5 separate regions of the Homo sapiens genome follow, and all the other regions are linked to region 3. Evidence: promoter capture Hi-C in 16 types of primary human blood cells and fetal thymus (Javierre and others, 2016). All regions are on one chromosome and are shown on one strand. The core of a region is centred on a gene start or on the middle of the fragment in contact, and the rest is flanking DNA. Distances in the headings are between cores, read along the strand shown.

Region 1 (2,700 bases), core at 168-2,667, 300 kb after region 3:
TCTTCCTTAAGAAAACAAGATTCTATGTCATTGGCATTAAGCATATAAACCCTGTTCCTCATGGTATTTATTTCTCCCCTTGTATTCAGTCCCTAAGCTTCGCTGACTCAATCTATAACAATTTGAGACTGGCTAATTTTTAAAACAGGAATCCATATTTTTTGTGTTCACAAGGAATACTTTGCTACAGGACTAAACTGTTCTCAACACATTTCGTTTACAATGAGAGAACTATACAGTGGTCTTGAGAGGACTTCTATCTCTTTCTGTGAAAAGAGCTGGCTGGGGGACCATGGGAACTTGTAAGAGGGGTTCTTTTTTTTTTTTTTTTTTTTTTGAGAGGGAGTTTTGCTCTTGTTGCCCAGGCTGGAGTGCACTGGCGCAATCTCAGCTCATGGCAACTTCCGCCTCCCGGGTTCAAGCGATTCTCCTGCCTCAGCCTCCCAAGTAGCTGGGATTACAGGCATGCGCCACCACACCTGGCTATTTTGGATTTTCAGTAGAGATGGGGTTTCTCCATGTTGGTCAGGCTGGTCTCAAACTCCCGACCTCAGGTGATCCGCCCGCTTTGGCCTCCCTAAGTGGTGAGATTACAGGCGTAAGCCACTGCGCCTGGCCAAGAGGGGTTCTTAAAATGAACATTCAGATCACAGAATATTTTTATGTCAAATTGTGGACCTAACCCATCTTCCGCTCACCTGATATGTTGTCCTGCTTCCGCCGATGAAGTCTAATAACCTTCCCCCTGCTCATTCCCCTAAAGAGGGAAAATAAACTTAAAGTAGTCCTTCCAACAGCATGCATCACATCATAGCACACATGGGCGAAGTGTCTCTGCATATGCTACCCCCTCCCTCCCACCTACCAAATGTTTCCAGGACATTAAATTTCATATCAAATTCAATAGCTTTAACATCAATCTCTCATTCCTTGTTGTCAGCAATTCTCACCTAGTGCAGAGAATTCGAGCCAAGGAGCACTAAGGAATCATCTACATTAACAAACACAAGAAAGAATACTTTGAGCTTTTCCCTACTTGTAAGAAACCCTAATCCCAGCAACCCAGACTTAAATTTAGATGGAACAGGATCTTACCTGCACTTGTCACAGTTGAGAAGGAAGCCATCCTGAGAAAGACCACAAGGACACCAGGTAGGTACAGTTTCTCCTTCAGAGTTCGGGCTGTCTCCACAGCGTTCCTCTACAGGCGACGGCAGGCCATTCAGGTCAGAACGAGGGATGATCGTCTGGACAGGGGGAGAAGCAGGAGGTGTCGGAGGAGGAGGGGCTCCGTAATTATGATCCTGAAAATAAGATTTTTTAAATCAACAGTGTCCAAACACTGGCCCCTCTCTCCCCTAAAGTATGGTACATATGGAAAGAAAGAAGAAAGTAGTACCCTTTGTTTTTTGGCTTCAACCAGGAAAGTGATAAAACAAAATGCCAAGGTCAACTGGGACATAAAAACAAGAACAATGATGCAGGGCTAGACGTCCGCTGGAGTCAGGGAAGTGCAAAAGGGGCAACTTCGTCATGCTGCATATAAACATTTCAAGAAAGTCACAATGTATAAGAATGGATTACACTCCAGGAAGATCACTGTTCTGGAGAGAAACAAATGCATACTCACAGCATAAGGCAGTCCTCGACACCCATGCCTCTGAGTGGTCCCATAATTATGAGTGGAATACACGCTCTTCTCATTAACTGCTGGACTAGCCTCCACAGATTCAGGGCTGCACAAAGGCGAAAAGCAATGCATGATAGCATAACACCTAATCTTCCCTTAAACTAACACTTCATTTCCCATTCTAACCCCTCCTCTTTCCACAACCACTAGCCACTAGGATAAGAGAAAGAACTCGGTGAAACAATCTTATTAACATAACTAAGCCTATAAATAACAGTAGGAGTGTTATTAAATGTGGATTTGTGTGTAACATGAAGCCAGTACAGGCAGATGTCTGAAGGCAGGCACCTGAGATACAAGGTGTCCCTAATGACAAACACAAACGTACCAGCTGAGCGGGGAGTTTCCCCTAGAGAAGCCACTCTGGGCTGGTTTAGACTCAGAACTATTCTTCTTAATTGGATCTCTTAATACTTCCATGAAACCTCACATGACATTTGCAGTGAGTGAGATGATCAAAGTGCCTTCTGCACTGCCCCAGGGACCAGGCCCTCTTCCATTCACTACCAAGACAGGATACCCTGAAGAAAGTACAGGTAAAAACAATGGCATCTTATATTTATCATACCTCTCATCTTGATGAACCCCCAACACCTTTCAAATATTAGAGTAATAATTTCTCATCCACCAATGACATGCAAGCATATTAAGGACAAAATTATTTATCAGCTGCATGATAATACCATAGAACTTCAAAATAAAAACTAAACTGTAAAGTTATGTTAGTCTACTGACAAATAATAACAACAGTAATGGCTACCATTGTGAACTGCCCAATATTTGTTAGGTGCTTTAAATACATATTAATTCATTTAATTTCAGCAACCACTAAACATGGTATATACTCCATTTTTACAGAGTGGGAAGATGTGGTGGTGAGATTACATGACTTCCCCAAGGTTACACACTGACACAGCTAAGATTTGAAACAAAGTCTGTCTGACTCCAAAGTCTATGCTCTTTCCACTACAGAAATGAGAATGACATTCAGTCCTTTAAAGAAAATTATT
Region 2 (2,700 bases), core at 51-2,550, 260 kb before region 3:
AAGTAACTTTGAACATCTTCACATTTATTAAAAGATTCAATCACTTGCCAACTCCAGTATGTATTTTCACTATTACTAGAAAAATTACTTTGTGAAAAGTTGGAAAGACTATAAATGCCCATCAATCTGGAAAGGGTTCAGTAAATTATGATGGAGTAATTTTAATTTTTGAAATATTATAGTCATCAAAAAGGATAAGCCAGGCTGGGCGTGGGGGCTCACACCTGTAATCCCAGTACTTTGGGAGGCTGAGGTACACATATCACCTGAGGTTAGGAGTTCGAGACCAGCCTGGCCAACACGGTGAAACCCCATTTCTACTAAAAAATACAAAAAAAAATTGGCCAGTCGTGGTGGCAACTGCCTGCAATCCCAGCTACTCAGGAGGCTGAGGCAGGTCAACGACTCGAACCCGGGAGGTGCAGGTTGCAATGAGCCGAGATTGTGCCACTGCACTCCAGCCTGGGTGACACAGCGAGACTCTGTCTAAAAAAGACTTTTTAATTACAAAATTTAAAAAAAAAAGAAAAAGGTAGATCAGGGGTCCCCAACTCCTGGATCACGGAGTCTGTGGTCTGCTAGGAACCAAGCTGCACAGCAGGAGGTGAGGGGTGGTCAAGTGGTCATTACCACTGAGATCCGCCTCCTGTCAGATTAGCGGCTGCATTAGATTCTCACGGGAGCGCAAACCCCATTGTGAACTGCACATGCGCAGGATCTAGGCTGCACATTCCTTATGAGAATCTAAGTAGTGCCTGATGATCTAAAGTTGAACAGTTTCATCCTGAAATCATGCCCCGAAACGGTCTGTGGAAAAACTGTCTTCCATGAAACCAGTCCCTGGTGCCAAAAAGGTTAGGGACTGCTGAGCCATACTCTATTTTTTGACAGAGGAAAGACATTCCTGATATGAAGTGGAAAAAACAGCAGCCTGCAAAAGGATAATCAGGCTGGGCATGAAGGCTCATGCCTATAATCCCACTGCTTTGGGAGGCTGAGGAGGGAGGATCATTGAGCCCAGGAGGTGGAGGCAACAGTGAGCTACGATTGTGCCACTGCACTCCAGCCTGGCGACAGAGTGAGACCCTGTCTCTTTAAACACCACCACCACCACCCATAATCATAGTTAAGATTCTGCTTTTGTAAAAACAATATATAAACATATATATGTGTAGGCATAAGAGTATACCTGTACTTGCACACAATTACAGCTTGTATATGAAGAGAAAAAATTTGGAAGGATGATTACCCCTGAGGAATGGGAAAGAGAGCAGAGAAAAACTGTATTTTTTACATCTGTAGATTCCTTGTGGATTTTTCTCCACAATTAGCTTGTTTACCTAAGTTTAAAAAAGAAAAATATGAGGGCTGGGTGCAGTGGCTCATGCCTATAATCCCAGCACTTTGGGAGGCCCAAGCAGGAGGATCACTTGAAGCTAAAAATTTGAGACCAGCCTGGGAAACACAGCAAGACCTCATCTCTATAAAAAATAAAAGAATGGCCGGGCGCGGTGGCTCACACCTGTAATCCCAGCACTTTGGGAGGCCAAGGCGGGCAGATCACGAGGTCAGGAGATCGAGACCATCCTGGCTAACATGGTGAAACCCCGTCTCTACTAAAAATACAAAAAATTAGCCAGGCGAGGTGGTGGGCGCCTATAGTCCCAACTACTCAGGAGGCCGAGGCAGGAGAATGGCGTGAACCCGGGAGGCGGAGCTTGCAGTGAGCCGAGATCGTGCCACTGCACTACAGCCTGGGCGACAGCGAGACTCCGTCTCAAAAAATAAATAAATAAATAAATAAATAAAAGAATTGGCCAGGCGTGGTGGCTCACACCTGTAATCCTAGCACTTTGGGAGGCTGAGGCAGGTGGGTGGATCACCTGAGTCAGGAGTTTGAGACTAGCCTGGCCAATATGGTGAAATCCCATCTCTGCTAAAAATACAAAAATTAGCCAGGCATGGTGGCAGGCACCTATAATCCCAGCTACTAGGGAGGCTGAGGCAGGAGATTTGCTTCAACCCAGGGGCCAGAGGTTGCAGTGAACCGAGATTGTGGCACTTCACTATAGCCTAGGCAAAAGAGCGAAACTCTCTCAAAATAACTAACTAACTAACTAACAGAATTAGCCAGGCCTGGTGGTGCTTGCCTGTAGTCCCAGCTACTCCAAAGACTGAGGTGGGGGGATCGCTTGAACCCGGGTGTTTGAGACTGCAATGAACTATGATGCTGTCACCGCACTCCACCTTCGGTGACAGAGCAAGACTTAGTCTCTTAAAAAAAAAAAAAAAAAAAAAAAAAGAGAAAGGCCCGGCACGGTGGCTCACACCTGTAATCCCAGGACTTTGGGAGGCTGAGGTGGATCATAAGGTCAGGAGATCCAGACCATCCTGGCTAACAACGTGAAACCCCATCTCTACTAAAAATACAAAAAATTAGCCGGGCGTGGTGGCAGGCGCCTGTAGTCCCAGCTACTCGGGAGGCTGAGGTAGAAGAATGGCATGAACCCAGGAGGTGGAGCTTGCAGTGAGCTGAGATTGCGCCACTGCCTGCACTCCAGCCTGGGTGACAGAGCAAGACTCTGTCTCAAAAAAAAAAGAGAAAACACTGGGAGTGTATTCAGGGCAATCTGAGTCTATGCTTCCAGGAAAAAAAAAAAAAAAAAGTTAAAAAGGCAAGCAGGACAAAAAAGAAAAAAC
Region 3 (2,700 bases), core at 11-2,510:
CCCTCCCCGCTCCCCAACATTCCTGGGTGAGTGTAGACAGCAGATGGCACCAGGCCTCAGGAAGCCCAGCTTGGTCAGAGACTGCCCCAATTTCTCTCGGCCTAGTTGAGTTCAACCATTCAGCTAGGGGCTTGGCACCATCCCAGCCAGGCAGGGCTATCATGAGCTCCCTGACAAAATAACCCCTCTTGGCCTCTCCACCTGTGCCTTAACCAGGCAAGTGGGCTGCTCCAGCTCCACTGTCAACGGCTCCTGATTTTCACATCAGTAACGCTACACGTCCAACTGCAACTCTTCTATTTCCTACCTGCGGCTGTGTCTTTAAACATAAACCAACCGAAGCACAAACAAGCTCTCCTCTTTCCAAGCTGGGTCCCGGGTGAATGGTTCCCAAAGTAGCACAGCGAATCAGCAATCTCCCCTTGGAACCCGGCAGCAGAGGCACAGGCGAGGGAGACGAGAACTTAGACCAGAAAGCCCGTGGGGAGGGCCCAAGGAGAATGGCGGCTGCATCTGCCCCTGAAGCTCAGGGGGCTGGAGGAAGTAAGGGGCGGGGGCCGGAGGGATAGGGCTGGGCCCCGGCAGTGCCCGCAGCCCACTCTCCGGATGCGGCGGCGTTTCCCCTTTGTGGAAGTGTAACAAGTGAAACAAGGCTCCCCGCCTGCCACTAGCCCGGGCAGCCCCGAAAGATACACTGTTGCCCCAGGATGCCTGCTGGGAAGCAATGCACTGTCAGTTCTCCCAACTGGAGTTGCCAGAGAGGTTCCCGGGCCACGCGGCTCAGTGCGCGTCCCACGAACGTAGCCTACCCCTTCCCTGCCGGCCACTCCCGCCCTGGTCCCAGGCCCGCACTCACCGGCCACCTCGAGTCCGGGCTCATCGCCGGGGGCGCCCGCCGGGGCTCCGACCCCACTTGGGGAGGTCGGCGGGGAAAGTCGGGCCGGGAAGGGGGAGCCCCAACTCCGGAGACCGTAGACCTCGCCACCCCGGCCCCCTGCCGCCCCACGCTTTGGTCCCGGCTCCCCGGGATTCCTGAGCTGACCCCTGCCGCTCCTGGTCCCGCCGGCGCCCTGGGGTCTCAACTCCGTCGGCCGCCGCCCGTTTCGCGAGCCCCCAAGATGCCCGGTCTCGGGACCGGGCGCTGCTGGAACAATGGAGGCTCCCAGAGGCAGCGCGAGGACAGCGGCGGCGGAGACCGTGGCGGCAAAGGCTGTGGCAGCGGCGGCGGCAGCAGCGGCGGCGACGGCGTCTGCGCAGGGTAAACGTGGCGCCGCGGCGCTACTGAGCTGCACTTTCGCCACGGATCCCCGCCCGCCCGCTGAGGCTCGAAAGACCGTGCTCCGGGATTCAGAAAGGACCCTGGACACCCCACAGGGCTTCTCTAGCTCTCCCATCTTAGAGTGGAGTTTCTGGAGACTGAAGTCACCGTACTCGGGATCTGGGGTCGTCGGGCGGTTTGTGGCGAATCTGCAACCACGGACGGTGAGCGCGGGGCTGGGCGTGAGGAGCCCGCCCTTCTCCCCTCCCCCTCTGCCTCCTCCCTATCCGCTCCCTGCCTCCTGCTGGCGCCGCGGCTGCGGGAGGGACCTGGCCTTGGTCTCGGAGGAAGGCGGTGAGGCGGGGCCAGAGTCACGGGGCGGGGCTGGGGGCAGGGCCGGGAGCAAGAGGGATGCGGGCTGGAGCCTAAGGGACCGGTAGTTATGGGTAGGACCGGGGCGGGGCTGGAGACTAGACCGGTCTGTGGGGCGGGGCTTGTGGGAGGGGGCGGGGCTACCGCACAGCGGGGGCCTGTTAGAATAGCGGGGTAAAAAGTGGGGCTAAACAGAAGAAGAGTACTCGCGAGAGAAAGGGCGGAGCTTTGGATGAGCCTGGAAAGTGGAGCTGGACTAGAAATAAAGAACAAAGTTGGAAAAAGCGATGCGACGCTGAAGGGAGCAGGCGGGGCTTGGTAAGGCAGGGGCGGAGCTGTGGGGAAAGGGCAGGACCGATTAGGGATAACGGGGCGTGACTGAAGGAAAGGGAAGAAACTTGGGAAAAGTAAAGGAGAGGTGCTAGAGAAAAGGTATGGGTCTGAGAGAAGGGGCTGGTTTGGGGCCGGTGGGTGTGAAAGGGCTTGTCTGGTAAAGCGGTGGGAAATCTGTGGGTTGGCAGGGATGTGCTGCGGGTTGCTGATTGGAACATGGTGCCAAAACAGCTGATTTAATGTGAGTGGGTCACCTCCTAGCAATGTGAACGTGGGCAAGTTCAGTTCTTTAAGTTCCTTATTTGTAAAACAGAGCTCGAAAACTCTGTTGTTAGTTCTTGAGGGTTTCAGAGAACTTGCATGGCAGGGGGAGACATCCTTAAACAATACTTCTCCAGTTTTGTCATCAAAGAGGAGCGTGAAAGGTCTTCCAGGGTTCTGGGACAAAGCCCAAAGCATCTGAAAGCTTCTATCTTCTTAATGCAAACTTTGCATTTGACCCAATAAAATGTATGTTTTCTAAAAACCATCCCAATAAAATCGACATGCCAGGAAGAGGTTTGCTGATTAAGATCTTGGGATCTGAAGTCAAACTGATGAATTATCTTAAATGACTCATCTTCTCAGAGCCTCAGTTTCCTTATGGGTAAAGTGGGAATAATATATAGTACCTGTTCTCAGAGTTGTTGTGAGAATTAAATGAGATGATGCTTGTAAATCACCTAGCACACGGTTTG
Region 4 (2,700 bases), core at 38-2,537, 280 kb after region 3:
CAAAAAGAAGACCTATCAGTCACAAGTTTTTGGTAGTAAAGATTAGAATAATAAACTGACAAGAAATAAATTTAGGCCAGATAGTAAACCTGCAAAGATTAGGATAATAAGATTATGTATCCTGTGGAAGACAGAAAATTTCTTACCTGTAATTGTGTTCTCTTAAGATATACAGTTGTAGGTTGCTCACCACTCTGTGGCTCTCCTGCCCTGACATAAGACAGATCGAATTTTGATAAACATCAATTTCTGAGTAAGACCCTCCCCCAATAGGAAGAGCAAAGGTGAATTATTATAATTTATACCTTTAGAGAACATGTATTACAGGTAAGTAAATACTCTCTTCACCAGAGAGCAATTCTCATAGATTTTCCCTCTTAGAAACCTAGGAAACAATCCACAAAAATTTTACCAAAAAAAAAAAAAAAAAAAAAAAAATCTTACATCATACAAATGTCATTGTGGCTGGCCAAATGAAAGCAAAACTGAAACTGTAAACCTGTAAACACTTGGAAGGAAGAGTGAACAAGGATATAAAAAAGAGCTCTCAATGGTAATTTGAATCACGTAAACATTTTAGGATACAACCAGGTCTCTGAAAAGCAAACACAAAAACAAAATAAAAAATCCGAAGAATGAACTATCTTAGATACAGAATAATGATGTAAAGATGAATTGTCAGAACCATACATATAGCCTTAAAGCTTAGAAGAGAACTTAGAAGTCATCTTGTCCAAAGCACTCATTTTATAAATGGAAAAATTAGGCTCAGGAGTGAAAAATCTTTTGTTATGGCCACCTTTAAGTTTTTCTTTTCAAAGCAGAAAACACTCATTTGGGGTCACTAAGCTTTCCTATCTGAGTAATTTTTTAATATTTCCAGGGTCTAGTAGATGTACTTGTAAAATAATTTACATTCTGGATCTGATGACTACAAAAAGGGAACATAAAATCAGAACAGGAGTATTCTAGAAGAAAGATGCTACCATGGTTAGCTATGAGGTGAAACACAGCAAATACAATCAAACCTACTCCTCCAGGTTCTGTTGTATAATTTTACAATATTTCAGGACTCATATAAAAAAGGAACATGGACATTTGTTTGTATCTAACAAGATACAATTAACCTCATGGATAATAAGTTAATTTTAGATGCACCTACTCAGCAAGTTGTTAAAATCAAAAGAACATTTCTCCCTTCTCTGAACCTCTATTAAAATATATTGCAAAGGAGTTTTCTGGGAGGCTCAAAGATGGATAAATATTTTAAAGGTCTCGCTATTATGGCGAAAGAGCAAGGAAGCAATACAGGTTTTGGAGTCCAGAAGCCCTGGCTTGACACTTGGCTGTGAGGCTGGGCTCAGTAGCTCGTATCTGTAATCCCAGCAGAATGTGAGGCCAAGGTGGGCAGACTCCTTGCACTCAGGAGTTTGAGATCAGCCTAGGAAACACAGCAAAACCCTGTCGCTACAAAAAATATGAATATTAGCCAGGCGTGGTGGTGTGCCTGTGGTCCCAGCTACACGAGAGGTTGAGGTAGGAGGACCATTTGAGCCCAGGAGGTCAAGGCTGCAGTGAGCCTGTGATGATGCCACTGCACTCCAGCCTGGACAACAGTGAGACCCTGTGAACCCCTACTATCCCCCACCAGAAGAAATCTGGCTGTGTCACTTATTAGCTGCTTCACTTTGGACAAGTTACCAAACATTTCTGAGACAAAGCTTCTGGATATATAAATTTAGGACAATGATCCCAATTTCATGCATGGTAAGTGAGATAATGTATGTGAAGAAAGCTTATAGTACAGTACTGAACACTGAGCAGATTTTCACCGAGTCCCGGTTCAACTAAATTTCAATGCTATGTTTGGAGATTTACAGATAATGCTCCAGTGTATAAAATGAAATATTAATTATCAATGCAAAGCACACTGTTTCATTATCAGTCAGACTGGTTTTTCTAAGAAGTCTGGAGACCAAATGCCCTATACACATTGTGTTTAGAAGAGGAGTTTAGAGAGAACAAGGTGAAACACTACTGAGAGCCTTGTTGGCCACTTATAAATGTTTTTAAAATACCAACTGAGGAACTAAAAAATGCAAAATGCTTCTTAAAAACTATGATTCAATTTAGAAACTCTAGGGATATCATAAAATGTTCTGTCAAATACCTGAACTCCTCTTCTTTTCAGAAGTTGCAGAATAATAATGATAAAAATAAAAATAAATAGCATAAGAATCTGAGTACAACTATACAGATACAACTTTAATTTGTCCTATACTGGTAAGTTTTTAACTTACAAGGCCAGGCCCTTACCTCTTTAGTGAGATATGAAACAGTGAGCCTATTAGAAATATACATTGTTCTAAATAATCCCATGGAGGGTTTTCTTATCTATCTGATTAACTTATACTCTGAGGGATTTTCAGAATTTTATTACAATTTTGTTGAATAATGAAAATGTTCTTAGGTTCTGCATTAGGTAAGTCCTTTCTAACCAATATTAGGAGATATTAGAAGAAGACCAATATTAGAAGAAGAACTCTTCTTCACTGCTATAAAGCCAAATTCTATTCTAGCTAAAACATTCCATTTCATTTTATTTTGCCTCATAAAAAGCTGTATTTTAAAAAATAGAATCTTGATATGTGAACAGCACACAATAAAGCAATGACTTAAACAGTTTTTAAAGATCCTATT
Region 5 (2,700 bases), core at 141-2,640, 260 kb after region 3:
AATAAACCCCACCTACTATTTGGTTATCATAACCTCCAAACTTCCAACACTAGGTCAACTACAGCTAACCGACAAAGAATGGTACCAGAAAACCAGATACCATACCATATCAGTCTTCAAATTACGTTATCTTAGAATCTTTAACAACTGAGGAGAGAGAGCTTTACTTTCCTAACAAGCTAGAGTCAAAACACCAAGAAAATCTCTAATATACTAGTGGAATAAAACCTTTTTCAGTTTCATATTAACCTGTGAACTACTACTGATTCAGAACTTAGTAGACTGTCACTGAATTATGCCCTAATTTTTTATTGGAAGGGGATAGGGTTAAAGTTCAGTTGACTATTTCTGAGAGACTCTAACTTTCTCTTCAAGAGAAAAAAGGTCCCATGTATTAATAGATTCAGAGTTAATGTTACTAAATCTGAAAGCTTATAATAGAAACTCTAGCACTAAAATCTGAGTTTGACATATCCACAGCAGTAGGGTTTGTGAGAAAACCACTCTACTGATATCCTAAAGAGATAACACTTGTATAGCAACCATATCCTAACCATTGCAGAATGGTGGCCTGTGACAGAAAGCCAGGGACTCACTTGGTTTCCTTGTGCACCCAGTAAGGAGCTGCAGAGAAAATGTAGGAAAGCTGAAAGACAGAATGACTTTCCCTTCCTGAAGAAGCTGCTCAATCTATCAACCAAAGGTCAAAACATCTGGTTTACAGAGCTGTTAGATTAACCCTAGAACAAGGCATAAGTCACCACCCAACTCAAAAAACAGCTCTTACAACTTTTGACTCAACTTTCCTGATTTATTAGCCTTTCTTTAACAAGGCTCCTACCACATATCAGCATCTTGACTTCTAGATTCTATTCTTTAATAGAACTCCAGCCACCCCCTCCCCCAAACGGCAAAAACCAACCCCACCAAACACACACACAACACACACACACACAAACACACACGCTCCTACCTTCATTTTCCTCCATCTACATTGACAGTCCTGTGTAGTCACAGTCACACAGGAAGACTCATTCAACTTACTGTGACTGAGTGGCCGCCCTCCAGCCCATCACCCCACTGACTCAGATCCCCAGCCCTCCCCACACACTCAGGAACACATTCATGAACACTCACTCTCAGCCTCCAAGTGTGATTGAGATGGTGTGATAACTACCTCGGGTGACAGGGACTCGGGCCTATGCGCAGGGGAACTCTCAGGGGAGGATATGTTCTAGAGGAGGGAAAAGCATCTTGTTATTATTCATCTACTCGAAGTCAAGAAGCAAAACAAAACAAAAAATAAAAGCAAGCATAGATGTTAGCCATAACTTTTTTCGGGGGCGGGGAAGTTGAATAAGAATGCATAGGGGAAATATTTAACTGCAGAACTCATCTCAATGGACAGAATGACTTGTTAAAATGCTTCCTGGTATCTCTGAAAGCATTTAAGGATAAATTGGTTATAATGTTTCATGCTGTAAGTAAACATCTCAAGCACATACAAGGAAAGAGTTAGACTGGTGAAATTTTAGTGTTATACGTCTTTGTATTTTAGATGAGAGTTTAGCAACCTACAGTATTTGTTATTGAGGGGCACCCTACCCCTTATTCCTCCTTACATGGACCTTGTTCCTTCATCCAATGCCTCTTCTGCTTGTCACATTTCTTTATTCTCTTATATGCCTCAGGCCCTCCCAGTGCTATCCAGGGGGAGACATTAGTGTGCTGGGGGCTGACATGGTTAGGGAGATGGCCAGTTCCTCTTGAATGACAGTTACAGGAAATGTGATTGATGGAATCCCTAGCTCACAGGCTAGAGTTGGTTCTTGGCATAATCTAATTAGACCTGAGCCACCCCTATTAATGTTATTTTGTAAAATCCATTGTACTTTTGGCAACAGAGCAGAAAAAGCATGTATGTGTATACTTAGGTCCCTGTATCCTACAGAGGGTAGGACTTTACCTTGGGACTTTCAGGTGAGGCAGCAGTCCCATAACAGAGACTGAGCAGTGAGTGCTTAATGGAAAGATGTAAATGGGAACACGTGAAGAGAGTGAAGGTGGTAGTGTGACAATGACTCAGGGGTGCTAGGGCTGAGGTAAGGAGAGGGTGCCTAATGTAGACTCTGAATAACTGTGGCCTAGGTGGCAGGCACATGCTGAGGTAGGGGAAATGAGGCTGCTTCAGCAAAGCAGGGTTTTGGCTGTGAATTTTACTTGGCATGGACAGTGGGTGGTGTACATCTAGGTGCACGTATGTGTGAAATGGCGGGTGGAGTATGGCTCTCAGGGCAAGAATAGGAGGGGAGGGTTATTCTGGTAGAAAGGAGAGGCTAACTAAGCTTGTCCTCCCAATGTTGCTTCCACTCTTCTTTCTAGATGCTTTCCCCTCCTGAAGATCTTGTTCTCTTCCACTGTTTATCTTCTTACCTTCTTCCCCTTAGCACTTAAGACTTCTCACCATTTTCCTGAATGCTTTTTTCCTTCTCAAAAATATCCTTCCCCAAACTAATCTAGTAAGGTTGTTTTTTTTTTTTTTTTTTTTTTTTTGAGAGAGAGTCTCCCTCTGTTGCCCAGGCTGGAATGTGGAATGCAGTGGCGCAGTCTTGGCTCCCTGCAACCTCCCAGGCTCAAGCAATTCCTTTGCCTTGGCCTCCCGAGTAGCTGGGATTACAGGTGTGTGCCACTGTACCTGGC

The links. The method cuts DNA at HindIII sites, captures the fragments that hold promoters and counts their contacts. A CHiCAGO score of 5 or more calls a contact.
Region 1: a contact is called between a fragment that was not itself captured here and the fragment with the promoter of BRPF1 in region 3, in 2 of 17 cell types (neutrophils and megakaryocytes). The highest score is 6.8, in neutrophils.
Region 2: a contact is called between a fragment that was not itself captured here and the fragment with the promoter of BRPF1 in region 3, in 3 of 17 cell types (neutrophils, monocytes and naive B cells). The highest score is 8.5, in neutrophils.
Region 4: a contact is called between a fragment that was not itself captured here and the fragment with the promoter of BRPF1 in region 3, in 3 of 17 cell types (megakaryocytes, total CD8 T cells and naive B cells). The highest score is 9.8, in megakaryocytes.
Region 5: a fragment that was not itself captured here is called in contact with the fragment with the promoter of BRPF1 in region 3 in 1 of 17 cell types (megakaryocytes); the score reaches 6.0 in megakaryocytes.

The regions. Positions count from the first base shown.
Region 1 is chr3:9,432,881-9,435,580 of GRCh38, reverse strand. It overlaps SETD5 (SET domain containing 5), which reads right to left. Exons shown (of 23, transcript NM_001080517.3): 4 at 1,631-1,736; 5 at 1,096-1,247; 6 at 699-757. Among named protein-coding and RNA genes, the nearest start is that of SETD5, 37 kb to the right of the region's middle. The HindIII fragment of the contact is 2,635 bases long and covers 100-2,700 here.
Region 2 is chr3:9,989,928-9,992,627 of GRCh38, reverse strand. The region is part of intron 2 of EMC3-AS1 (EMC3 antisense RNA 1); the gene reads right to left. It also overlaps a transcript of EMC3 not described here. Among named protein-coding and RNA genes, the nearest start is that of EMC3-AS1, 4.4 kb to the right of the region's middle. The HindIII fragment of the contact is 3,447 bases long and covers 1-2,700 here.
Region 3 is chr3:9,730,295-9,732,994 of GRCh38, reverse strand. It overlaps BRPF1 (bromodomain and PHD finger containing 1), which reads right to left and starts at 1,260. Exons shown (of 14, transcript NM_001003694.2): 1 at 857-1,260. RefSeq lists enhancers at 145-704, 1,265-1,824 and silencers at 782-911, 922-971, 1,442-1,801. The HindIII fragment of the contact is 5,381 bases long and covers 1-2,431 here.
Region 4 is chr3:9,450,398-9,453,097 of GRCh38, reverse strand. All of the region lies in intron 16 of SETD5 (SET domain containing 5), which reads right to left. Among named protein-coding and RNA genes, the nearest start is that of SETD5, 54 kb to the right of the region's middle. The HindIII fragment of the contact is 872 bases long and covers 852-1,723 here.
Region 5 is chr3:9,467,053-9,469,752 of GRCh38, reverse strand. All of the region lies in intron 18 of SETD5 (SET domain containing 5), which reads right to left. Among named protein-coding and RNA genes, the nearest start is that of SETD5, 71 kb to the right of the region's middle. The HindIII fragment of the contact is 1,914 bases long and covers 434-2,347 here.